4 separate regions of the Homo sapiens genome follow, and all the other regions are linked to region 1. The links are contacts of gene promoters, found by promoter capture Hi-C in blood cells and fetal thymus (Javierre and others, 2016). All regions are on one chromosome and are shown on one strand. The core of a region is centred on a gene start or on the middle of the fragment in contact, and the rest is flanking DNA. Distances in the headings are between cores, read along the strand shown. Region 1 holds the start of TIMM17B (translocase of inner mitochondrial membrane 17B). Region 2 holds the start of EBP (EBP cholestenol delta-isomerase). Region 3 overlaps TBC1D25 (TBC1 domain family member 25). Region 4 holds the start of RBM3 (RNA binding motif protein 3).

Region 1 (6,628 bases), core at 3,521-6,020:
CCCCATTCTGCCCAGCTTACCCTTCTTGCTCTTGGGATAGGGAGCCAGCTCCTCCCGGCGATGGTGGCGCCGTTCTTTGCCCTCTTCCCGGTCTGCCTTGTCATACCCGCGGTCCCGATCCCGTTCCCTGTCTCGCTCTCTCTCTCTGTCTACCTTGTCATAGCCACGCTCTCGATCCCTGTCAGACTTGTCGTGGCCCCGGTCTGACTTGTCGTGGCCCCTGTCTAGTTTCTCATGGCTGCGGTCCGACTTGTCATGGCCCCTGTCCGACTTGTCATGGCTCCGGTCCAACTTTTCTTCAGCATCTGGGGACACAAGTCTTGAAGTGACCTCTTGCCACCCCAGGACCCAGCAGCCTCTGCCTTCAACAACCTCCCTTGCCTGAGGCTGGGCCCGCCTGGTCTCACCTGCCCCTCTGATCCACTATCATTCTACTTGGCCTCTCCGTGAGAACTGCTAAGATCACTCAAGGCACGCTTGTACCTGCCAACTCACCTGCATTACTGCTTCTGAGCTTCTTGGCCGATTTGGTAACCACGGAGTTGGGGTCATGTGGGGAGAGCCAGGATACAAGGTCTGTGTCTGCATTCCAGTAGTAAGGGAGCCCGCTGTGGGGCCGCAGGAAAGAAGTGTCAGCACAGATGTCCTTGCCTTGGATCCTCAACTCTTGTCTCCCCAGTCTCTGCCTATACCTGCCCCATGTCAGGACCCCACAGGCAGGATCCCCAGAATCTCTTCTCCTGAAGAGAAAACACTGTCAGCTGGGCGTGGTGGCTCATGCCTGTAATCCCAGCACTTTGGGAGGCCGAGGCAGGCGGATCACCTGAGGTCAGGAGTTCGGGACCAGCCTGACCAATATGATGAAACCCCATCTCTACAAAAAATACAAAAATTAGCTGGGTGTGGTGGTGTGCACCTGTAATCCCAGCTACCTGGGAGGCTGAGACAGGAGAATCGCTTGAACCCACGAGGCGGAGGTTGCCATAAGCCGAGATCACACCATTGCACTCCAGCCCGGGCTACAAGAGTGAAACTCCGTTTCAAAAAAGAGAGAAAAGACAGTCTTCCAACCCCAGAGGAGCCAGGCCCCAGCAGGCAGCAACTTGAGTCCTGCAGATACCTAATGCCAACACCCTCCACCCGAGGCTCCCTCCCTTGTGTCCCCCTAAACCTCACAACCAAGGTCAGCACAGGAAGGGTGAAGCCAGAAGTTAGCTCCCCCTCACCCAGGCTCACCAGGAAGGGTCGAACACCTTGTACCAGCTTGGTGGTAGGCCCTCCAACCTGGTGGCCTCGTAGTCCACAGGATCATCGTCATAGTCCTCGGCAATGATCTCTTCCTCTGGTTCTGGTAGAACAAGGTGGGGATGAGGAGAGCAGATAAGGACCAGGGGACCTCATCCTACATGTAGAGCCTAGAGACACGCACTCACATTCACACAAGCCACACATAAAAGACACGTGTGTGTGTGTGCCGGGAAGAATATGAAGTATCTTTCACATTCCAAATCCAACTCTCTATATTAGGAGGTTTACAAAAAAAGGTTACCTAAATCTGTGTCTGGGTTCAGATGATGAGTTCTACTGTTAGCCAAAGCTATCTGGTTTCAGAGTTGATAGGGATTCATCAAAAAATTTACTCATCTTGGCCAGGCGTGATGGCTCATGCCTGTAATCCCAGCACTTTAGGAGGCCAAAGTGGGTGGATCACGAGGTCAGGAGTTCAAGACCAGCCTGGCCAAGATGGTGAAAACCCGTCTGTGAGACTAGCCTGGTCAACATAGTGAGACCCCTGTCTCTACAAAAAAAAAAAATTAGCTGGGCACAGTGGCACACGTCTGTAGTCCCAACTACTCAGGAGGCTGAGGCAGGAGGCTCATTTGAGCCCAGGACTTTGAGCTTGCAGTGAGCTATTATCGTGCCACTGCACTCCAGCCTGGGCAACAGAGTGAGACCCTGTCTCTAAACAAATAATAAATAATATATATACCATAGGCACAGGTCATTCAATAGGCTTAAAAGAAAATCCAGCCTGGCCAACATGGTGAAACCCCATCTCTACTAAAAAATACAAAAATTAGCCAGGCACAGTGGAGCACGCCTGTGGTCCTAGCTACTCGGGAGGCTGAGGCAGGAGAATCGCTTGAACCCGGGAGGCAGAGGTTGCAGTGGGCCAAGACTGCACCACTGCACTCCAGCCTAGGTGACAGAGCGAGACTCTCTCAAAAAAAAAAAAAAAAAAAAAAAAAAAAAGTAAATCAATGATCATTGCCAGTTTTATTTTTTTGAGATGGAGTCTTTCTCTGTTGCCCAGGCTGGAGTGCAGTGGCATGATCTCGGCTCACTGCAAGCTCCGCCTTCCGGGTTCACACCATTCTCCTGCCTCAGCCTCCCGAGTAGCTGGGACTACAGGCATCTGGCACCACGCCCGGCTAAGTTTTTTGTATTTTTATTAGAGATGGGGTTTCACCCTGTTAGCCAGAATGGTCTCGATCTCCTGACCTCGTGATCCGTCCACCTCCGCCTCCCAAAGCGCTGAGATTACAGGCATGAGGCACCCTGCCCGGCCTGGGATCATTGACAATTTTATTAACCACAAGGTCTATACCTTGCACACAGTAGGCTTGTAATAGATGTCAGTTATCAATAAGGAGAAGATATATTTTCCAGTGCCTGGCACACTATAGCCCCAAATAGATGCCAGTTTTTAGTATTACTGATAATAAGGTGTGATTTGCAGCCAGAGCACAGTAGGCCTAAATGATAGATCCTCACTGCAACTACGCTTGGCACACAGGAGACAGCAGTAGAGGTTAGCAGTACTTCCTATTAGATACTATGTCATCACCCCCATAGAGTAATCCATGGGATTTAACTTGGCATACAGTAGGCCCCAAATAGGCATTAGGTGGTCAGTATTATTTTGTTGTTTTTTTTGGATTTTTTTCAGACAGGGTCTCCATGTGTCGGCCAGGCTGGAGTGCAGTGGCACAATCTCGGCTCACTGCACCCTTGACATCCTAGGCTCAAGAGATCCTCTCACCTCAGCCTCCCAAGTAGCTGGGACTACAGGCATGCACCACAACACACGATTAATTTTTGTATTTTTTGTAAAGACGGGGTTTTGCCATGTTGCTCAGGCTAATCTCTTAATCCCTAAACTCAAGCAATCTACCCGCCTCAGCCTCCTAAAGTGCTGGGAATGCCAGCTTGAGCCGCCACGCCCAGCCAGTCAGTATTGTTAAGAATGAAATATCTGCCGGGCACAGTGGCTTATGCCTGTAATCCCAACCCTTTGGAAAGCCAAGGGTGGGGGGTGGATCACCTGAGGTCAGGAGTTAGAGGCCAGCCTAGCCAACATGGTGAAACCCGTCTCTACTAAAAATGCAAAAATCAGCCGGGTGTGGTATCACGTGCCTGTAATCCCAGCTACTTGGGAGGCTGAGACAGGAAAATCGCTTGAGCCCGGGAGGCGGAGGTTGCAGTGAGACGAGATCACGCCACAGCACTCCAGCCTGGGCGACAGACCGAGACTCTGTCTCAAAAAAAAAAAAAAAAAAATTGCCAGGTGTGGTGGGGCGGGGCGTGCCTGTAGTCCCAACTACTCGGGAAGTTAAGGCAGGAGAATCGCTTGAACCTGGAAGGCGGAGGTTTTAGTGAGCCGAGATCGCGCCACTGCACTCCAGCCTGGGTGCACAATAAGACTCTGCCTCAAAAAAAAAAAAAAAAAAAAAAAAAAAAAAAAAAAAAAAGAATGAAATATCTATTCCCCCAACCCCCTCCACTTGACACGCGGTAGGGATGGATGTCAGGAATCCACATTGTTAACAACGAAAAATGCCTGCCACCCCATTGCTTGGTGCACAGTTGGCCCATGCTAGGTATCAAGCGTCAGTATCAACAACAAAAGTGCCTGTCGAGGCTGGCACGTGTTAGGACCATCTGCTTTTAGCTGTCTCACCAGGCTCCAGATGTTTGAGGATGCCTCTCTTGGCCAAGCGGGTCTGCAGCGCAACGGGCAGCGGCATAGCTGATAGCAGACAGACCTAGGGACAGACGAACAAACTGACAAGCAGCTCAGATAAAGATTCCTATCTGGATCCCGTAACCAAGCGCCTCCCGTAAACATGTACTCATCTGACTCCGATCTACTCAAATGAACCAGTAGCTGGGTGGACAGAACATACGCACTAAAAGATGTAAGAGGTAGGTGGCAATATCATCGCAACTCCCACCAACCCTACTGTCCCCGAAACCAGGTGCTCCAGGGCCCTGTTCCTCTCCCAGGCCCAGGCTCCGCCCACAGCCTAAGAAGCCCGGCCCCTCCGCACTTCAGAAATGGGCTCATCCAGCGTCCCCATGACTGCCGGGTGGGAGAAACCAAAGCGCTGGGATGGGGGAGCAGAGGGCAGCACTTCCTCCAGCTCCAAAAGAGTGCACCCACCCCAACGTTACCAATACACTCGTGCAGGTAGTGGAAGGCTGTCACACCGCCCGTCTCTCTCGTGTCGCCGCTACGATACCTGGGCCCACACGACTCTCTTCCCAAAACACCGAATGAGACCTTCTCTCAACGAGGCCTTCACTCCCCGAGCCTGAAAGTAACTGGACTACGCTCAGGAGGCAATGAACAAATGGCAGAAACTCGATTGGCCAATGAGAGTGCGTCCTTGGCGTGACATGCGGTATAGCGACCCAATCGCTGCCCGGTAATAGGCGGAAAGCTCCGACGCCGGTGTGCGTCTACGCTGGGGGCGTGGCCTGACTGCGCGGCCAGACGCCAGCGCCATGGAGGAGTACGCTCGGGAGCCCTGGTACGGCAATGGGCACAGGCATCCGGAATATTGCTGCGACGCCAAGGCCAGCCGTGGGGGTCGGGCGGGGGAGGCATCGGCCGCACAGAGCCATGTACCAGACTCGGGGGACTCTTAACGTATCTCCCGCTACCCCCACTCGGTTCCTGTCATTCGGGCTCCGTTATGAGGGGCCACAACCAGAGAAGGTGCGGCGAAGGCCGAACCACGCCATGTTTCTCCTGACTTCGTAATCTCCTAGCCCTGTTAACGAAAAAAGACACGCTGGACGATCCATCCCGGCTAGGGGTGGTACGGTGTTGACCGGAAATCCCCAGAGTTGCCGCCAGTGGTTTTTCCCAGGTCGCCTTTGTCAGTGGGGGGCGGGGCACGGATGAACCTGTTGAGGGCCGGCGGGGACGGTGGATGCTTCCCGCGGTCGCTCTTGGTTTTTCCCAGTTGTGCCGGATTGAAAAGGGGCGGGGCATGGTTGGACGGGCTCACCGTCGGAGAAGGGGTGCGACGCGGTCCTGCTTTGCTGACAGTCTGTCTTGGCTAGTTAACACGCCTATGTCGCTTATTGAAACGTCAACTCTGCGTGTGCCAATTCATTTAATCTTTGATCACAGTAAAACCGTTGGCTGATTCCTTGGTTGGTAGACAGGGCGAAGACTAATATTTCTCCCCCTTTGCCCCATTTCTCGCTTTAATGGGGGGGTGTGTGGAAAAAGCGTGACAGAACTAGCTCATTATTATCTGAAGTGTTTGTTCCTACTTAGGAACTTCCCATTCTGGTGACTTGGTTTCTCCCAGTTAGAAAAGAGTTCGTGTGACAGGACCTGGGGGAGGGCTCACATTAACCCCGTCCTTCCCTTCCTGCTTGCAGCCCATGGCGAATTGTGGATGATTGCGGTGGAGCCTTCACTATGGGTGTCATCGGTGGCGGAGTCTTCCAGGCCATCAAGGGTTTCCGCAATGCCCCTGTTGTGAGTCCAGGCCTTCCCTGGGTTGGTGTGGGGTTAGCTATCTTGCCCACAAGGGAGGCTGCTCTGAAAACTGCTTGGAGCTGCCAGTCACGTGCACTTATTCATTCTGGTGCCCACTCACCTACTATGTGCCGAGCCTGGCTCCTGTATCTGGGATTTTGTAGGGATTGCAAACATGGCCTCTGTCTTCCACCCTCCACCCCACCCAACTGGAGCTCCTCTGTGGAAATGCTGTGTCGTTCAAAGAGTCATCACCAAATTTTAAATGTATGTGCAAAGCCAGACAGTTTTTTTTTTTTTTGAGACAGTCTTGCTCTGTTGCCCAGGCTAGAGTGCAGTGGCACGCTCTTGGCTCACTGCAACCTCTGCCTCCTGGGTTCAGGCAATTCTCCTGTCTCAGCCTCCCAAGTAGCTGGGACTACAGGCATGTGCCACCAGACCTGACGAATTTTTGTAATTTTAGTAGAAATGGGGTTTCACTATGTTGGCCAGGCTGGCCTTGAACTCTGGACCTCAGGTGATCCACCTACCTCGGCCTCCCAAAGTGCTGGGATTACAGGCGTGTGCCACTGTGCCTGGCCATGTTTTTTTTTTTTTTTTTTTTTTTGAGACAGCATCTTGCCCTGTTGCCCAGGCTGGCGTGCAGTGGCCTGATCATGGGTCACTACAGCCTCCGCCTCCCAGGCTCAAGTGATCCTCCCACCTCAGCCTCCCAAGTAGCTGGGACCACAGGACTGCGCCACCATGCCCGGCTAATTATTTATGTATGTATTTATTTATTTGTAGAGACGGGGTTTCAACGTGTTGCTTAGGCTGGTCTCTAATTCCTGAACTCAAGTGATCCACCCA
Region 2 (3,150 bases), core at 651-3,150, 380 kb after region 1:
CAGAAAAACCTGGACAAATAGAAAGTACAGAATGAGATAATAAAATCAAATTCAAATAGTTTATTATCATGAGAAATGTAAATGGACCGAATTTACCAGTTAACAGACAGGATTGTAACACTTCTAATTACATTCCGTTTTTTTTTTTTTTTTTCAGACGGAGTCTTGCTCTGTCACCCAGGCTGGAGTGGAGTGGTGCGACCTCGGCTCACTGCAACCTCTGCCTTCCGGGTTCAAACGATTCTCCTGCCTCAGCCTCCCGAGTAGCTGGGACTACAGGTGCCTGCCACCACGCCCAGCTAATTTTTTGTATTTTTAGTAGAGACGGGGTTTCACCGTGTTAGCCAGGATGGTCTTGATCTCCTGACCTCACGATCCGCCCGCCTCAGCCTCCCAAAGTGCTGGGATTACAGGCGTGAGCCACTGCGCCCGGCCTACATTCTGTTTTAAGACCATGACTAAAGGCCAGGCACCGTGGCAGGTAATTCCAGTGCTTTGGGAGGCTGATGCAGGAGCAGCACCTGAGGCCAGGAATTCAAGTCCGGCCTGGGCAACACAGCGAAACTGTCTCTAAAAAAATAAGAAAATCAGTCAGGTGTGGTGACAAAGGCCTGTAGTCCCAGCTAGTAGGTAGGCTGAGGCAGGAGGATCGCTTTGAGCCCAGGACTTCAAGGCTGAAGTGAGCAGTGACCACATCACTGCCCTCCAGTCTGAGACTCTGCCTCTAAAAAAGAAGGCCGGGCGCGGTGGCTCACGCCTGTAATCCCAGCACTTTGGGAGGCCAAGACGAGTGGACCACTTGAGCTCAGGAGTTCAAGACCAGCCCGGCCAACATGGCAAAACCCCGTCTCTACTAAAAATACAAAAATTAGCCAGGTGTGGTGGCGTGCGCCTGTAGTTACAGCTACTCAGGAGGCTGAGGCAGGAGAATCGCTTGAACCTGGGAGGCAGAGGCTGCAGTGAGCCGGGGTCATGCCACTGCACTCCAGCCTGGGCAACAGAGCGAGACTCTGTCTCAAAATAAAATAAAAAAGAAAAGAAAAAGAACATGACTGAAACACAAGGCCACAGAAAGGCTGAAAGCTTGTTCCAGCCCTTTAGAAGCCATATTATGATGTGGTAGAAACAGTCCCGGTCTCAGCCCTCGGGGGTCAAAGTCTGGTGGGAGGCACATGGGAACAACACCTGATCCCAGCCCTCCCTGGTCACAGTCTGGCGAGGGAGATACAGGACCAGGCCTGGTGTCTTCCTTCAAGGGTCACAAACTGCTCACGACCACCAAACCCAGTCCTGTGCTCCGGGGTCACGGTTTGGTAAGAGACACAGGAACCAGGCGTGGTCCAGTTGCACAGGTCAGCGTCTTAAACCGTTCAACAAAAAGCTATTCCCTCCCCCACGTAGTCCTGAAAACTGCAACTGGGGGACAGAGGAAAGAAAACGAATCAGAACTACAACCCTCGGTGCCAGCGTTTGGAAAGCCAGAGCCTCCCCGCGAGAGCGTGCAACGCCGTCAACCTGCAGGGAAGAGACGGATATTGAAAGGCCGGTGTCTGGCGTGCAGCGCTAGAACGGAACACAAAGCCGGTCAATCCGAACCAGAACCCTCCAGTCCCGCTGCCCAATGAGAAGACGGATCTTCTGTCCTCTGGACAACCGTGCGGTAGCTGGGGGTCTCGCGCAGGCGCAAAAGGGCGGTGGGGGGGGCGGGTGGCAAAGGGTCTCGCGCTGGCACGCCGAGGGCTGGCCGCGTAGCCGGGGAGAGCTGGGGGAGGGAGCAGGGGCCGGGTGGAGGGCACTCACCAAGGCGCGCGACGGCAGCGGCCTCCCACGCTGGCTCCGGGCTCTCTTTAGGCTGGGTCTCGCGCTCTGTCACATCCCTAGTTCGGGCTCATCCCCTAGTGGGTTCTCTTGCCTTACGGAGCGAGCCAATGGTGAAGCGAAGAAGGCGGCCCGTGCCGCTCCCAACCAATAGACACTCTCTTTGTACCTCTAGCCCCGCCCCCGCGCGTGGCGCCATTTTCACCTGAGTTAGGTTTGGGGTGGAGACTGGGACGCGCCAAGGTTAGTGGGCGTTTTGGATCCGTAGCCAATCTGCATCGAGTCCTGGCTTCAATTTCCCCATTCCCTTATCAGTCGATCAAAACGGGGACTCATTAAGGTCTGTACCCGCTTCTTCCGCTGGTGAAATTAGCGTTGCGTTGCATCCTTTCACCTCCGCCCTTTTCTAGGTAGAGTAACCCTTAGTATAATGCAACGAAACTGTTACAAGCAGATCACACGCTATACACTGCAACCACCCCCTCCCCAGCTCTTCAGTGCTCAGAACTCCTCAGTCCTAATAGCAGCGGTCATTCTCTCTTCTCCCGACCTCAAGTCAGAAGAACTAGTTAGAACCCAGGCCTCTCAGTCCTACTGACCAATTGGCATGAAGACCCTCAATCTCCATATGCCAGTTCTAAAAAGCCAATCAAACGCCTAACCACCAGTGGGCCCCCAGATGGAGCAATCAATCAGAATCCAGACCCATCCCAGACCTCCCATCCAATTAGAACCCACAACCCTCAGTCCTAAGGATAAATAGGCACCAACCCTTCATCTCTCTTGCTTTCTCTCCTCTGTGTCCCACTCAGAGCAACCAATCAGAATGGGGATCCTTCAGTTTTCCAGCCAATCAGGCCTCCCCCACATCCAACTATGCAATCTGTCCCTGCCCTGATCAAACCAAGCAGGACCAGGATCCTGCCATCTTCAGGCTCATCATCTAATCAATCATAAACTAACCATGAACCAATCACAGTCTGCTCTCTCTTCATGGTTTCCAGCTTCCAAACCTTTATCCATGCTGTGCTCCCTTCCTCACTCATTCCTATTCCCCTCTGAGCAGTGAAGAAGAAGCCTATTGAATATTTCCTACTTTTATTTGACAATAACAAATTGTATATAAAAAGGAAGAAGGAAGGCGGGGAGGCCCTGGATCTCCCCTTCTCTGTTTCCCCAAGCATCCCCCTCTAGGCCCCAGCAGGCACCACCCCCTTCCTGCCTTGTGGTGGGGTGGGGATTGACAGGCATGAAAATGGTGTGATTTTGTGTGTGTGTGTGTGTGTGTGTGTTGAGGTGTTGGGGGTCAAGGATGGAGGGGGTCAAGGAGTA
Region 3 (7,055 bases), core at 2,901-5,400, 350 kb after region 1:
ATGGCTCACCAAGTCTTAGATAGGATTAATTAACTAACAACACACAACAGGCCCCCCACCAACCCTATCCTTTTTTTTTTTTTTTTTTTGAGATGGAGTCTTGCTCTGTCACCCAGACTGGAGCACAATGGTATGATCTCGGCTCACTGCAACCTCCGCCTCCTGGGTTCAAGCCATTCTCCTGCCTCAGCCTCCCAAGTAGCTGGGATTCCAGGGGCATACCACCACGCCCGGCTAATTTTTGCTAATTTTTGTATTTTTAGTAAAGACAGGGTTTTGCCACATTGGCCAGGCTGGTCTTGAACTCCTGAGTTCAAGTGATCCGCCTGCCTCAGCTTCCCAAAGTGCTGGGATTACAGGCGTGAGCCACTGCGCCCAGCCCGAAATGCCCAAATTCTAAGAATAAAGAAAAACTCTTAGACTGGGCGCAATGGCTCATGCCTGTAATCCCAGCAATTTTTTTTTTTTGAGGCAGAGTCTTGCTCTGTTGCCCAGGCTGGAGCGCAGTGGCGTGATCTTGGCTCACTGCAACCTCCGCCTCCCGGGTTCAAGCGATTCTCCTGTCTCAGCCTCCCAAGTAGCTAGGACTACAGGTGTGCGCCACAACACCTGGCAAATTTTTGTATTTTTAGTAGAGACGGGGTTTCACCATGTTGGCCAGGCTGGTCTCGAACTCCTGAGTTCAAGTGATCCGCCTACCTCGGTCTCCCAAAGTGCTGGGATTACAGGCATGAGCCACCATGCCCAGCCTAATCCCAGCACTTTGGGAGGCCAAGGCGGGCGGATTGCTTGAGCCCGAGAGTTCAAAACCAGCCTGGGCTGAACATGATAAAACCCTGTCTCTACCCAAAAATATAAAAATTAGCTGGGCATGGTGGCGCACACCTGTAGTCCCTGCCACTCGGGAGGCTGAGGTGGGTGGGAGGATCGCTTGAACCTGGGAAGCAGAGGTTGCAGTGAGCTGAGATCACGTCACTGCACTCCCGCCTGGGAAATAGAGATCCTGCCTCAAAAAAAAAAAAAAAAAAAAAAGAAAAAGAAAAACTCTTGCAGCTTCCAGAGACAAAAAACGGCTGCTTACAATGGAAAGAAGGTCAGACAAGCAACAGACTTCTGCTTCACAACCCTGGAGGCAATAAGACAGTAGCTCACAGCACCTATGGAGCACTAAGAAGAAAGACCTGAGATCCAAGGGCCCCACACCCAGCCAAGACAGTACAGATCTATTCAGCCAAATAAAAACATTTTTGGCCATTAGAGTACATCTAACCCATGCACTTTTGGAGGAGAACAAAGAAGTTCTCTGAGCAAATGACTCCTGCATGACTAGAAGGGCTTAAGATAGGGAGAGACAAAGGGGAAGGTAAATGGTAATATTTATATATTATATATTATATTATATATATTACATATTTAATATTTATAGTTAAAATGACAACGATAACATGATTGGGGGTTTGTAATATTATATGTTACATTAGGATTCCTGAAACATAAGTGACTTAGTGTGTTAGTAAGAAAACAGAATGATAACCCGGAATTTAAAAAGAAAAAAAATTGGCTGGGTGTGGTGGCTCATGCCTGTAATCCCAGCACTTTGGGAAGCCGAGGCAGGCAAATCACTTGAGGTCAGGAGTTCAAGACCAGCCTGGCCAACATGGTGAAACCCCATCTCTACCAAATATAAAAAAACTAGCCGGGTGTGGTGGTGCGCTTCTGTTACCCCAGCTACTCAAGAGGCTGAGGCAGGAGAATTGCTTGAACCTGGGAAGAGGAGGTTGCGGTAAGCTGAGATTGTGCCATAGCACTCCAGCCTGGGCAACAGAGCAAGACTCCATCTCAAAAAAAAAAAAAAGTTGTCTAAGCAAAAGCTAGAAGTTAAGGGTTAGGGACCAGAAAACGAATAAGAATTACAAGTGTTCCAAAGCTCCATTTTAAAGGCCAGAAAAAGTGGGAGAGATTAAAGGAGAAAAAGTGGCCTAAAGATTTCACTGTTGGGGCGGGGTGCAGTGACTCACGACTATAATCCCAGCACTTTGGGAGGCCGAGGCAGGCAGATCATGAGGTCAGGAGATCGAGACCATCCTGGCTAACACGGTGAAACCCCGTCTCTACTAAAAATACAAAAAATTAGCCAGGTGTGATGGTGAGCGCCTGTAATCCCAGCTACTCGGGAGGCTGAGGGAGAATTGCTTGAACCCAGGATGCAGAGGTTGCAGCGAGCCAAGATTGTGCCACTGCACTCCAGTCTGGGCGACAGAGCGAAACTCCATCTCAAAAAAAAAAAAAAAAAAATTAGCCGGGCATGATGGTGTGTGCCTGTAATCCCAGCTACTCGGGAGGCTGAGGGAGGAGAATTGCTTGAACCCAGGATGCAGAGGTTGCAGCGAGCTGAGATCGTGCCACTGCACTCCAGTCTGGGCGACAGAGCGAGACTACGTGTCAAAAAGAAAAAAAAAAGATTTCACTGTCAGTTGCCTTAAAAAGCATAAATTCTGCTATGACGTTTTTACGAGAGGTATGAGAGACATACCTAAAACTAGGTGACACAAAAAGGTTAAAAATTAAAGAATCCTAAAGGTATATCTGGTAAACACAAACAGAAAAAAATAGTAGCCATGAGAATGTCAGAAAAAGCATCACTCAAGGCCAAAAGCATTTAACACAAAGAGACATTTTATACTGATTAAAAAAACCACCCCCTCAATCCCACTAATAAAACAGGCAGAGGCCAGGCGCGGTGGCTCACGTCTGTAATCCCAGCACTTTGGGAGGCTGAGGTGGGCGGATCACAAGGTTGAGACCAGCCTGGCCAACATGGTGAAACCCCATCTCTACTAAAAAATACAAAAAAAAATTAGCCAGGTGTGGTGGCAGGTGCCTGTAATCCCAGCTGCTTGGGAGGCTGAGGTAAGGAGAATCGCTTGAACCTGGGAGGCAGGGGTTACAGTGAGCTGAGATCGCGCCACTGCACTCCAGCCTGGGCAACAATGTGAGACTCCCTCTCAAAAAAAGGAAAAAAAAGGCCGGGCGCAGTGGCTCACACCTGTAATCCCAGCACTTTGAGAAGCAAGGCGGGCGGATCACAAGGTCAAGAGATCGAGACCGTCCTGGCCAACATGGTGAAACCCCGTCTCTACTAAAAATACAAAAATTAGCTGGGCGTGGTGGCGCGTGCCTGTAATCTCAGCTACTCAAGAGGCTGAGGCAGGAGAATCGCTTGAACCTGGGAGGCAGAGGTTGCAGTGAGCCGGAATTGTGCCACTGCACTCCAGCCTGGCAACAGAGTGTCTCAAAAAAACAAACAAACAAACAAACAAAAAACAGGCAAAGAATGTCTACAAACACAAACTCACCTAGTAGCAAAACCTGATCTGAACTGACAGGAGACTATATATAGTCTTTATATAACCCACGTAGTGTGAATATGCACACATTTCCCTGAAGAAACATCCAAGTGTTTCATTGTGGGCTGCTTGGCTGCTGGCCCAGACCCTGCTTGTGGTATTACATAATATTCATGATACGCGCATTTCCTTATCATAAAATTGTCAAACTTCCCAAACCCTAAATTAATATATAAACTCAGTGCAATGCCAGTCAGAAATTGAATGGGGGTTTTTCCTGGAACCGGATAAAATTATCTTAAGGTTTCTATAGAAGAATTCACATTTAAGAATAGCTAAGACAGGCTGGGCGCGGTGGCTCATGCCTGTAATCTCAGCACTTTGGGAGGCCGAGGTGGGTGGATCACGAGGTCAGGAGATCGAGATCATCCTAGCTAACACGGTGAAACCCTGCCTCTACTAAAAATACAAAACATTAGCCGGGCGTGGTGGCGAGCGCCTGTGGTCCCAGCTACTTGGGAGACTGAGGCAGGAGAATGGCGTGAACCCAGGAGGTGGAGCTTGCAGTGAGCCAAGATTGTGCCACTGCACTCCAGCCTGGGCGACAGAGCAAGACTCCATCTCCAAAAAAAAAAAAAAAGTTAAGACAAAGAACAGTGGGAGGATGGCAAAAGCTTATCGCCTGTAGTCCCAGCTACTAGGGAGGCTGAGGCAGGAGAATGGCGTGAACCCGGGAGGCGGAGCTTGCAGTGAGTTGAGATTGCGCCACTGCACTCCAGCCTGGGCGACAGAGCGAGACTCCATCTCAAAAAAAAAAAAAAATTTGACCACAAAACCACTGTCATAAAAATAACATGGTGTTAGCACAGCAGTAGACAAATAGAGCCCATTGGTAGAATGCAATAGAAAGCCCAGAAATAAATCCAAGCTTGTATATATGGAAACTGAATATGTGACAAACGTGGCATTTCGAATCACTGCAGAAAAGGTGATTATTTAATAAATGATGCTGGCAGGCCGGGCGCAGTGGCTCATGCCTGTAATCTCAGCACTTTGGGAGGCTGAAGTGGGTGGATCACCTGAGGTCATAAGTTCGACACCAACCTGGCCAACATGGCAAAACCTCATCTCTACTAAAAATACAAAAATTAGCTAGGCATGGTGGCGGGCACCTGTAATCCCAGCTATTTGGGAGGCTGAGTCAGGAGAATTGCTTGAACCCAGGAGACGGCGGCTGCAGTGAGCTGAGATTGTGCAACTGCACTCCTGCCTGGGCGATAAGAGTAAAACTTCGTCTCAAAAAAAAAAATTAAATTAAAAAAAATGATGCTGGCATAATTGACTATCTTGATTTTTTTAAAGCTAGGTCTGCTTATCACAATGCTGACAGAGAAAAGATTTATATGTAAAAAAGAAAACAATAAGCATAGTAGAAGAAAATATAGAATATTTGTATAAGCTTATGGATGGGGAACATGTTCCAAAGTAATAGGAGAAACTCAGCCAGGCACAGTGGCTCATGCCTGTAATCCCACCACTTTGGGAGGCCCAGGCAGGTGGATCACTTGAGATCAGGAATTCGATACCAGCCTGACCAACATGGTGAAACTCCATCTCTACTAAAAATACAAAAGTAGCCAGGTGTAGTGGCACATGCCTGTAATCCCAGCTACTTGGGAGGCTGAGGCAGGAGAATCACTTGAACCCAGGAGGCGGAGGTTGCAGTGAGCCGAGATCGCGCCATCGCACTCCAGCCTGGGCAATGAGAGTGAAACTCTGTCCCTCCACCTGCAATAAAAAGGAGAAACTCAGAAATCATAAAGAAAAAGATAGATATCTGTGTAGGCGTGCAATCAAATGTTTAATTTTGATAGGACAAAACAGATCCATCCCGTAAGCAAAGCCAAAAAACAAAAGATCAACTGGGAAAAATATTTGCAGTACCTATGATAGAAAGGAGGTTGGGGGCTGGGCACGGTGGCTCCCGCCTGTAATCCAAACACTTTGAGAGGCCGAGGTGGGTGGATCACTTGAGGTCAGAAGTTCGAGACCAGCCTGGCCAACATGGCAAAACCATGTCTCTACAAAAAATACAAAAATTAGCTGGGCATGGTGGTGCACACCTGTAGTCCCAGCTACTTGAAAGCCTGAGGCAGGAGGAGAGCTTGAGGTCAAGGCTGCAGTGGGCCATATTTGCGTCACTGCATTCCAGCCTTGGTGACAAAGAGAGTCTCAAAAAGAAAAAAGATTCATATCGGAAAAGTACAAATTGGTCAAAGGTCTAGGCTTTGTAATCTCCCAACTGTAGAGGTGACAGAAACTGGCTTTTTCCCAGAAAGAGGGACTGGGCCATCCAAACAGTCCCAACATGTCTGTTGCTTTCACAGCCATGAAAATGATCATGAGAATGCCATTAATATGTCTAATGATAGCTCCATATATTGGACACTTACATATTAATGTGTAGAATACCTTATGTTAAACACATACCGTTTATGTGTACAGACACGCAAATATGAATATACTCACATATGTGGATAAATGTGTGTGTAGGGAGTGTAAATAAGTAAAGGACATGCAAAGTTACACATCAAACCGATTCCCTCGGGGCAAAAAGGGTAGGGTAGGGGATTGAGATTAGGCATAGCGTTCCCAGGAGACTTCAGCATTATTTAAAATGCTTTTATTTTTAATAAGAATGTATTTACTGGGTAATGAAAGATTAGTTTCTCTTAAAAATATGACTCCAATCAAATTCCCGTCAGGATTTTAATGGAATAATAAGCTGATTTATTAAATAAAAAGAACAGTAAGTGAACAAGAATATTCAAGAAAATTTTTTAAAAAGGAAAACATGAAAACATATCATAAAACTATAATGATTAAGGCTGGGTGCGGTGGCTCTTGCTTGTAATCCCAGCACTTTGGGAGGCTGAGGCGGGCAGACTGCTTGAGTCCAGGAGTTCAAGACCAGCCTGGGCAACACGGCGAAACCCTGTCTCTACAAAAAATACAAAAATTAGCTGGGCATGGGGGCATGTGCCTATAGGCCCAGCTACTCAGGAGGCTGACGTGGGACAATTGCTTGAGCCTGGGAGGTGGAGGCTGCAGTGAGCTGAGATTGGGCCACTGCACTCCAGCAAGGATGACAGAGTGAGACCCTGTCTCAAAAAAAAAACAAAAAAAAAACCCTCAAAACCAAACAAACAAACAGAAAACAAACTACTACAATGATTAAAACAACATAGAATTGGCTTATAATTTAATAAATAGATCAACGTAAGAGAATCAGGAATTCAGAAACAGACCGATGTTGTGCAGGAATTTGGTAAATAAGACAGAGGGCTTTTTTTTTTTTTTTTTTGAGATGGAGTCTAGTTCTGTCACTCAGGCTGGAGTGCGGTGGCACGAGCTCGGATCATTGCAACCTCCGCCTCCCAGGCTCAAGCAATTCTCCTGCCTCAGTCTCCCGAGTAGCTGGGATTACAGGCGCCTACCACCACGCCCGGCTAATTTCTGTATTTTTAGTAGAGACAGGGTTTCGCCATGTTTGGCCAGGCTGGTCTCGAACTCCTGACCTCAGGTGATCCACCCGCCTCGGCCTCCCAAAGTGCTGGGATTACAGGCGTGAGCCACGGCGCCTGGCCTAAAAAGATAACCTTTTAAAGATGTATTCCTGCCAGACTACTGGGTGTCTTTCTGTCTGTC
Region 4 (7,055 bases), core at 1,201-3,700, 320 kb after region 1:
AACATAAACCTTACGTATCAAAAACAGGATATGTTAAGCATATGAGTATCACAGTAAACAGTTTTATGGCATACGATTTATACGCAGTATATTAAATCATATTACATGTTAAAGCAATATAGTTATATAACCCACACAGCACAACATATATAGTATACTTTACCATGTCGCAACTATATGACTACACAATTAACTTAAAATGCTAAATTTCATACTCATTTTAGGTACACATTAGTAACAGCAAGGTGTGGTATGCATGAACACCCAGGCGCTGAGTTCTTAAGGAGAGGGAAGCAATAGGAGAACATCCCAGCCCTTTGGCTACCCACCTGCCATTATAGTCTCTGGAACGTCCATATCCATATCCATACCCTCCAGGTCGACTGTCATAATACCTGCCACTCCCATAGCCCTGGTCCCCACCACCTAGAGCAGAAAAATATTTAAATGGCAGTTGTCCACACATAGGCAACTCTCCCTCTCACCCCATGATCAAAACGATCACTGCACTCACCTCTAGAGTAGCTGCGACCACGCCCATGGGCCCCAAAGCCACCTCCTCTGGTTCCCCGAGCAGACTTGCCTGCATGATCCACACGGATCTGACGACCATCCAGAGACTAAGTGTGGGAGACACAAGGATGATGGGTTGGCAGTCAGTCAGGGCAATGGTGAGGGAAGAGCAGGCAAGGGTAAGTGGGCAAAAGAGGCCAAAAATTCCTGCTGGGCACCAGGTTCTGGGTGCCATGTTCCAGAATAAGCTCCTTTACCCCAGAATGGCTTCATCAGGAGCTATAGAATCCCACACAAAATGACCTGAATGCACCATGTTCCCCTTGCTACTACTTACATCTTGACTGAACTCAGGCTGAGTTCTCCTCCCCACTCCTCTAAGCTGCCCGACTATCAGGGCTAGACAGACACCTCTCTTGGTTTGAGGCTTCAGAGTCCATGTCAGAAGACTCACGAGGTCCTCTCCGGGCCAGGCCCACAGGTCTGCAGACTCTACTACCTAAGCCCAAGGCAGGTCAACCATCCACAGGTGGCTTCTCGGCCTCATGCAGGACCAGTCGTCGCCTCCCAGGCGGCCAGGCTCTGTCTGCCGCTGCCCTCCACCCCCTAGAACAAAAGGCAGTCATGCTCCTGTGAGTGGGCACTGCGGGGCTTGGTGGCCACGCTGCCCCGAGCAGACACAGAGGGAAAAACAAAAAGAATGAAGGAAGCCGCAGATGGGGACAAGGTCCCTCTGCAGATAGGAGGCCCCACCTCTCCGTTCATGGCTCTCATGGCAACTGAAGCATGCTCTGGGTTGGTGAAGGTGATGAAACCAAAACCCCTGGACCGCTGAGTCTCCCGGTCCTTGACAACGACCACTGTGAGAGGGAGAGAAGATGGAGCAATGTGGACCAGTCAGTACCCCAAAGGTTAAGTAGCAAAGGGTGGCCGGAAAAGGAGATGGCATAGGTAGGGAAAACGGAGCGCTCCCACTAATCCCAAAGACGCTTCCCCTCATCCTTAGTCTACACCATAGGCTTAGGAAGAAAAAGAATTTGGAGGCGTGGGTCCTAACTTTTCAGTTAATACTCCTTGAAATGCAAGGATCCCAGACTTTCTCTCACCAACCCCCATTGTGAGTATGGCCCGTCTCACCCTCAGAGATAGGTCCGAAACTGCTGAAGTGGTCTTCCAGTGCCTGCTCGTCGGTGTTAAAGTTGAGCCCTCCCACGAAGAGCTTTCCTTCTTCAGAGGACATGGCAGTTCAAGTCCTGTGGGAAGAACATGAAGAATGGTGGCAGGAAGGAGAAAGAAAATGGAGATGTGAGAAAATAGCGAGACGGAAAGCAGAGAAAAAGCACAGAAAATAGACAAGAAAGAGGAACAAAATATGGGTAACTACAGAAAAGCTGAGAAAGGCGGCCAATAAGGTGGTAATCTGAGGAGCTGGCTCAGCGCAGCCACCATTAGGGGGCCACATTGCGCATGCTCTCACATTCATAGCCGCCACGCCCGTCATTTTGTGCCACTGCGCAAGCCCAGAACATCCCTGCGTTCCCTTAACGCCGGCAGAACAAGATGGCGGCGGCCACGTGGGATAAGGAAAGTAAGTGTCGGCTGTCGCGTGGTCACTGCCACCACCGACGCCACCAGTCCCTCCCGGTAGGCCTCACACTCAGATACAGCGCGCCGGCCTCCCACCAACCGAAATGTTTCACCTCCAAGCACGGGACCCGCCCGTCCCAGAGAAAGCCAAGCCTACGTGTCAGTGGCCATTACTCTCCCCACTCGCTATTCCCCGGTCACGGCCGGCGCGGCGCGTGTGTGGCGAGGAGCCGCCGTTTCGCAGGACATATGCAACTTACCTGGAAATTAAAACGTAAAAAACCCGGACGAACAGCGAGCTCGGAGGAGCACAAAAAACAGGGACGGGGCTGCGCCGGAAGACGATTGATAAAGAGTACGTAGCGAGAACGTCCCGGAACGTTCCCCTTGCGCGTCCCGGCGTGCGTGCTGATTGGCTGAGGCCAGCAGGAGCGGAGTGGTGGGGAGAGGAAGGGACAGCAAAGCGAAGGGAGCAGTGTTCTCCGCGAAATGGGGTGTTTCCGGAAATGGGGTGTTTCCGGAAATGGGGTCGACTTTTGAACAGCTGGTGCACCCTAAACGTCAGCATCCCCCCCACAACCGGCTGAGCTGCCTTTATCCCTTCCACAAAGGAACCTTCTCAATCTCATACTACTTGCTGTCCCTGACATCATCCTCCCGTCCTTGCCATCATTTCCCCCGCTGGATCGGATGTCTTCCTCACCATCGTAGTCGTCTTCCTCTAGGTCCCTGCCATTCTCTGATGTTAACCTCCTTCACCTTCTAGTTCTTTAACCTCATACCCTTTAAAGGCCTGACATTTTATCCCCCACCGTCACTGATGTCATCACCCTTCACAGTCCATGATGTCAGACCCAACGTTTTAAGGTTTGACCCTGACTCCTACTCTTTCTCCTCTGTGCTCAACATCTAGCCGCCTGTCATGGGACCCTTTTCCCTGGCGTCATTCCATCTCATCTCTGACTTCAGCCCTCACCCTTGTCTGACTGCTGGCGTGAAGCCAGCCCCTTAATTTTCTCACCAATAGACTGCCTGAGATGGCTTTTACAAAACAGGATGCTGGCCGGGCGCGGTGGCTCACGCCTGTATTCCCAGCACTTTGGGAGGCCAAAGCGGGCGGTTCACGAGTTCAGGAGTTCGAGACCTGCATGGCCAACATGGTGAAACCCCATCTCTACTAAAAATACAAAAAAAAAAAAAAAAAAAAAAAAAGAAAAAAAAAATTAGCTGGGTGTGGTGGCACGTGCCTGTAGTCCCACCTACTCGGGAGGCTGAGGCTGGAAAATCGCTTGAACCCGGGAGGCGGAGGTTGCAGTGAGCCGAGACCACGCCATTGCACTCCAGCCTGGGTGAAAACAAAACAAAACAAAAGAGGATGCTACGATCTTCAGAGGTTGTAAATCCCAATCCATAGAGCAATTTTTGCTCTCTTCGAAAGTAACTGAGCCCTTGCCGGGCGCAGTGGCTCATGCCTGTAATCCCAGCACTTTGGGAGGCCGAAGTGGGCAGATCACAAGGTCAGGAGTTCAAGACTACCCTGGCCAATATGGTGAAACCCTGTCTCTACTAACAATACAAAAAAAAAAAAAAATTAGCCGGGCGTGGTGGTAGGCACCTGTAGTCCCAGCTACTCAGGAGGCTGAGGCGGGATAATCGCTTGAACCCGGGAGGTGGAGGTTGCAGTGAGCTGAGATCATGCCACTGCACTCCAGCTTGGGCGACAGAGCAAGACTCAGTCTCAAAAAAAAAAAAAAAGTAACTGAGCCCTTGATTCACAGAAGGGACTTTCGCAATACACAATAGACTTATCCCAATCAAGTAGTGTCTGAGCCCACTGTTCACAATTTAGTCTTCAGTGTCTTGGCCACCTTTACAATAAATGGATTTGACAGATTTTTCACTTCTGAGCGCCACATCAACGAAGAATAAGTTAGTTTGCCCTCAGAGGCTAAATTTCTTATCCATAGAATGAATTTGCCCAACACAGACCAAATTTGCTAACATACAGAATACAGTACATCCATATTCCTGTTGGGGTAATTCCCATATTTATCTTCCTGTTATTGTCAGGGATTCCTCACATAGTCTAATTATTAATCCCTTAGGTGTTGGAAATAGCCTCTCCAGCTCTGGCATTTGTGTTATTAACTTTGTAAGCAGTAAACTTAGTTGAATAAAGATCCATAATTTTGATATAATCATTTTTCCCCCTATGTTCTGTGCTTTTTTCTGAGACGGAGTCTCACTCTGTCGCTCAGGCTGGAGTGCAGTGGCATGATCTCAGCTCACTGCAACCTCCGCCTCCCAGGTTCAAGTGATTCTCCTGCTTTAGTCTCCTGAGTAGCTGGGATTACGGGCATGTGCCACTATGCCCAGCTAATTTTTGTATTTTTAGTAGAGATGAGGTTTCACCATGTTGTTCAGGCTGTTCTCAAACTCCTGACTTCATGATCCGCCTGCCTCGGCCTCCCAAAGTGCTGGGATTACAGGCGTGAGCCACCACGCCCGGCCTGGTCTGTGCTTTTAAAGAAATCATTCTCTTTCCCAGGTCACAAAATGTTCCCCTACAGTTTCTTTCTTTCTTTCTTTTTTTTTTTTTTTGACAGAGTTTCGCTCTTGTTGCCCAGGCTGGAGTGCAATGGCACTATCTCGGCTCACTGCAACCTCCGCCTCCTGGGTTCAAGCAATTCTCCTGCCTCAGCCTGCTGCGTAGCTAGGATTACAGGTGTGTGCCACCACACCTGGCTAATTTTTGCATTTTTAGTAGAGACAGGTTTTTGCCATGTTGGCCAGGCTGGTCTTGAACTCCTGGCCTCAAGTGATTCGCCTGCCTCGGCCTCCCAAAGTGCTGGGATTACAGGCATGAGCCACCGCACCCGGCCACATTTAGGTCTTTAATCCATGTAGAGTTCGTCCTTGTATATGGTGTGAGATAGAGCTCCAATTTTATTTTTCTCTGTGTCATGAGCCAGATGCCCCATCACCATCTATTAAGCAATCTGTCCCATCCCTGTGTGTGTTTTACCACCTCTATCATGTATCAAGTTCCATAGATATATGGGTCTGTCTCTGAGGTGGTTTGTTGCTGGTTTTGTTGTTATTGTTGTTTTTAAGAGATGAGCCCAGGCTGACTCCTGGCCTCAAGCATTCTCCCCAACTCAGCCTCCTGAGTAACTGGGATTACAGGGGAGCACTATTGTACCTGACTTCTGAGCTTTTTTTTTTTTTTTGACAGAGTCTCACTCTGTCGCCAGGCTGGAGTGCAGTGGCGCGATCTTGGCTCACTGCAACCTCCGCCTCCTGGGTTCAAGTGATTTTCCTGCCTCAGCCTCCTGAGTAGCTGGGACTACAGGCGCGTGCAACCACGCCCAGCTAATTTTTGTATTTTTAGTAGAGATGGGGTTTCACCATGTTGGCCAGGATGGTCTTTTTTTTTGAGACGGAGTCTCGCTCTGTCGCTCAGGCTGGAGTGCAGTGGCGCGATCTCGGCTCACTGTAAGCTCTGCCTTCCAGGTTCACGCCTCAGCCTCCCGAGTAGCTGGGACTACAGGCGCCTGCTACCGCACCCAGCCAATTTTTTTTTTTTGTATTTTTTAGTAGAGGCGGGGTTTCACCGTGGTCTGGATCTCCTGACCTTGTGATCTGCCCACCTCGGCCTCCAAAAGTGCTGGTATTACAGGTGTGAGCCACCGTGCCCGGCCTTCTCTTCTAATTGGTCTACTTCTTAGCTCTTGGGCCAATATAGGTTTGTTGTTGTTTTTTTTTTCCCTTTTATTACTAACACCTTTAATATGTCTTAATATCTAGTGGGCAAATCCCCATCATAACGCTTTCTTTGAAGGCTGTCTTAACTGTCCATGATTCATTACTATTCTAAATTCTAATGTAAGTGTATTGCAGTTCTAACAAAAAGAAGTAATGAGGTCAGGCATGGTGGCTCTCGCCCAAATCCCAGCTACCTGGGAGGCTGAGGCAGGAGGATCGCTTGAACCCAGGAGTTGGAGTCTGCAGTGAGCTATGATCGTGCCACTGCACTCCAGCCTGGGCAACAAAGTGAGACCCTGTTTCAAAACATTAAAAAAAAAAGTAATGGAAGTGTTATTGAGAGTGCATTGAATTTTTACATTTTGGGAGAAATAACGTCTTTTTTTTTGAGATGGAGTTTCGCTCTTGTTGCCCAGGCTGGAGTAAAATGGTGCAATCTCGGCTCACTGCAACCTCCGCCTCCCGGGTTCAAGCAATTCTCCTGCTTCAGCCTCCTGGGTAGCTGGAACTACAGGCACCCACCATTATGCTCGGCTAATTTTGTATTTTTAGCAGAGACGGGGTTTGTCTATGTTGGTCAGGCTGGTCTCAAACTCCTGACCTCAGGTGATCCACCCACCTCGGCCTCCCAAAGTGCTGGGATTACAGGTGTGAGCCACCATGCCCGGCCAAAATAACATCTTAATAATATTAACTGTGGAGGTTTTAAGATATGGTCACACTCTGATACTGTACTCGTCAAGAGTTGGAGCCTAACTTCCTTCCACTTGCATGTGTGCTGGACTTAGTGACTCAATTGTAAAGCACAGAATGAGGTGGAAGTGATAGTGTGTCATTTCCAAGACCAGGCTGTAAAAGGCACATCTGCTTCATGCTCTCTGTCACACAGACTGCTCATTATGTGGGACATTAGCTGGTATGTCATGAGCAGCCCTATGGAGGGATCTAGGTGGCAAGAAAGTAAGGCCTCTTGCCAACAGCCATGTGAGCAAGCCTTCTTAAAGGTGGATCCCAGCCTTCAGATAACTGCAGTCCTGGCCAACATCCTGATTGTAGCCTCATGAGAGGCTCTGAGTCAGAACCACCCAGTTAAGCCACTCTCAGAATCCTGACTCTCCAAAACCATGTGAAATAATAAATGTGTATTGTTTTAGCCACTAAGTTTTGGGATAATTTGTTAAAAATAACTT

Evidence for each region. The method cuts DNA at HindIII sites, captures the fragments that hold promoters and counts their contacts. A CHiCAGO score of 5 or more calls a contact.
Region 2: a contact is called between the fragment with the promoter of EBP here and the fragment with the promoter of TIMM17B in region 1, in 1 of 17 cell types (neutrophils). The highest score is 7.4, in neutrophils.
Region 3: a contact is called between a fragment that was not itself captured here and the fragment with the promoter of TIMM17B in region 1, in 1 of 17 cell types (activated CD4 T cells). The highest score is 5.8, in activated CD4 T cells.
Region 4: a contact is called between the fragment with the promoter of RBM3 here and the fragment with the promoter of TIMM17B in region 1, in 5 of 17 cell types (neutrophils, total B cells, fetal thymus and 2 more). The highest score is 9.5, in neutrophils.

What each region holds. Positions count from the first base shown.
Region 1 is chrX:48,895,910-48,902,537 of GRCh38, reverse strand. TIMM17B (translocase of inner mitochondrial membrane 17B) reads left to right here and starts at 4,770. Exons shown (of 6, transcript NM_001395498.1): 1 at 4,770-4,814; 2 at 5,680-5,779. The coding sequence starts at 4,789. PQBP1 (polyglutamine binding protein 1) reads right to left here and starts at 4,608. Exons shown (of 7, transcript NM_001032382.2): 1 at 4,456-4,608; 2 at 3,962-4,046; 3 at 1,237-1,348; 4 at 496-608; 5 at 21-305. The coding sequence starts at 4,028. RefSeq lists enhancers at 3,945-4,164, 4,215-4,584, 4,875-5,074, 5,105-5,254. The HindIII fragment of the contact is 9,862 bases long and covers 1-6,628 here.
Region 2 is chrX:48,520,558-48,523,707 of GRCh38, reverse strand. It overlaps EBP (EBP cholestenol delta-isomerase), which reads right to left and starts at 1,900. Exons shown (of 5, transcript NM_006579.3): 1 at 1,801-1,900; 2 at 1-9. PORCN (porcupine O-acyltransferase) reads right to left here. Exons shown (of 15, transcript NM_203475.3): 15 at 2,900-3,150. RefSeq lists silencers at 1,616-1,795, 1,856-2,085, 3,000-3,059. The HindIII fragment of the contact is 9,622 bases long and covers 1,086-3,150 here.
Region 3 is chrX:48,547,594-48,554,648 of GRCh38, reverse strand. The region is part of intron 3 of TBC1D25 (TBC1 domain family member 25); the gene reads right to left. Among named protein-coding and RNA genes, the nearest start is that of TBC1D25, 11 kb to the right of the region's middle. The HindIII fragment of the contact is 254 bases long and covers 4,024-4,277 here.
Region 4 is chrX:48,569,879-48,576,933 of GRCh38, reverse strand. It overlaps RBM3 (RNA binding motif protein 3), which reads right to left and starts at 2,450. Exons shown (of 7, transcript NM_006743.5): 1 at 2,361-2,450; 2 at 1,651-1,766; 3 at 1,267-1,373; 4 at 515-620; 5 at 330-426. The coding sequence starts at 1,753. RefSeq lists enhancers at 2,123-2,392, 1,376-2,575 and a cis regulatory region at 2,332-3,317. The HindIII fragment of the contact is 13,325 bases long and covers 1-7,055 here.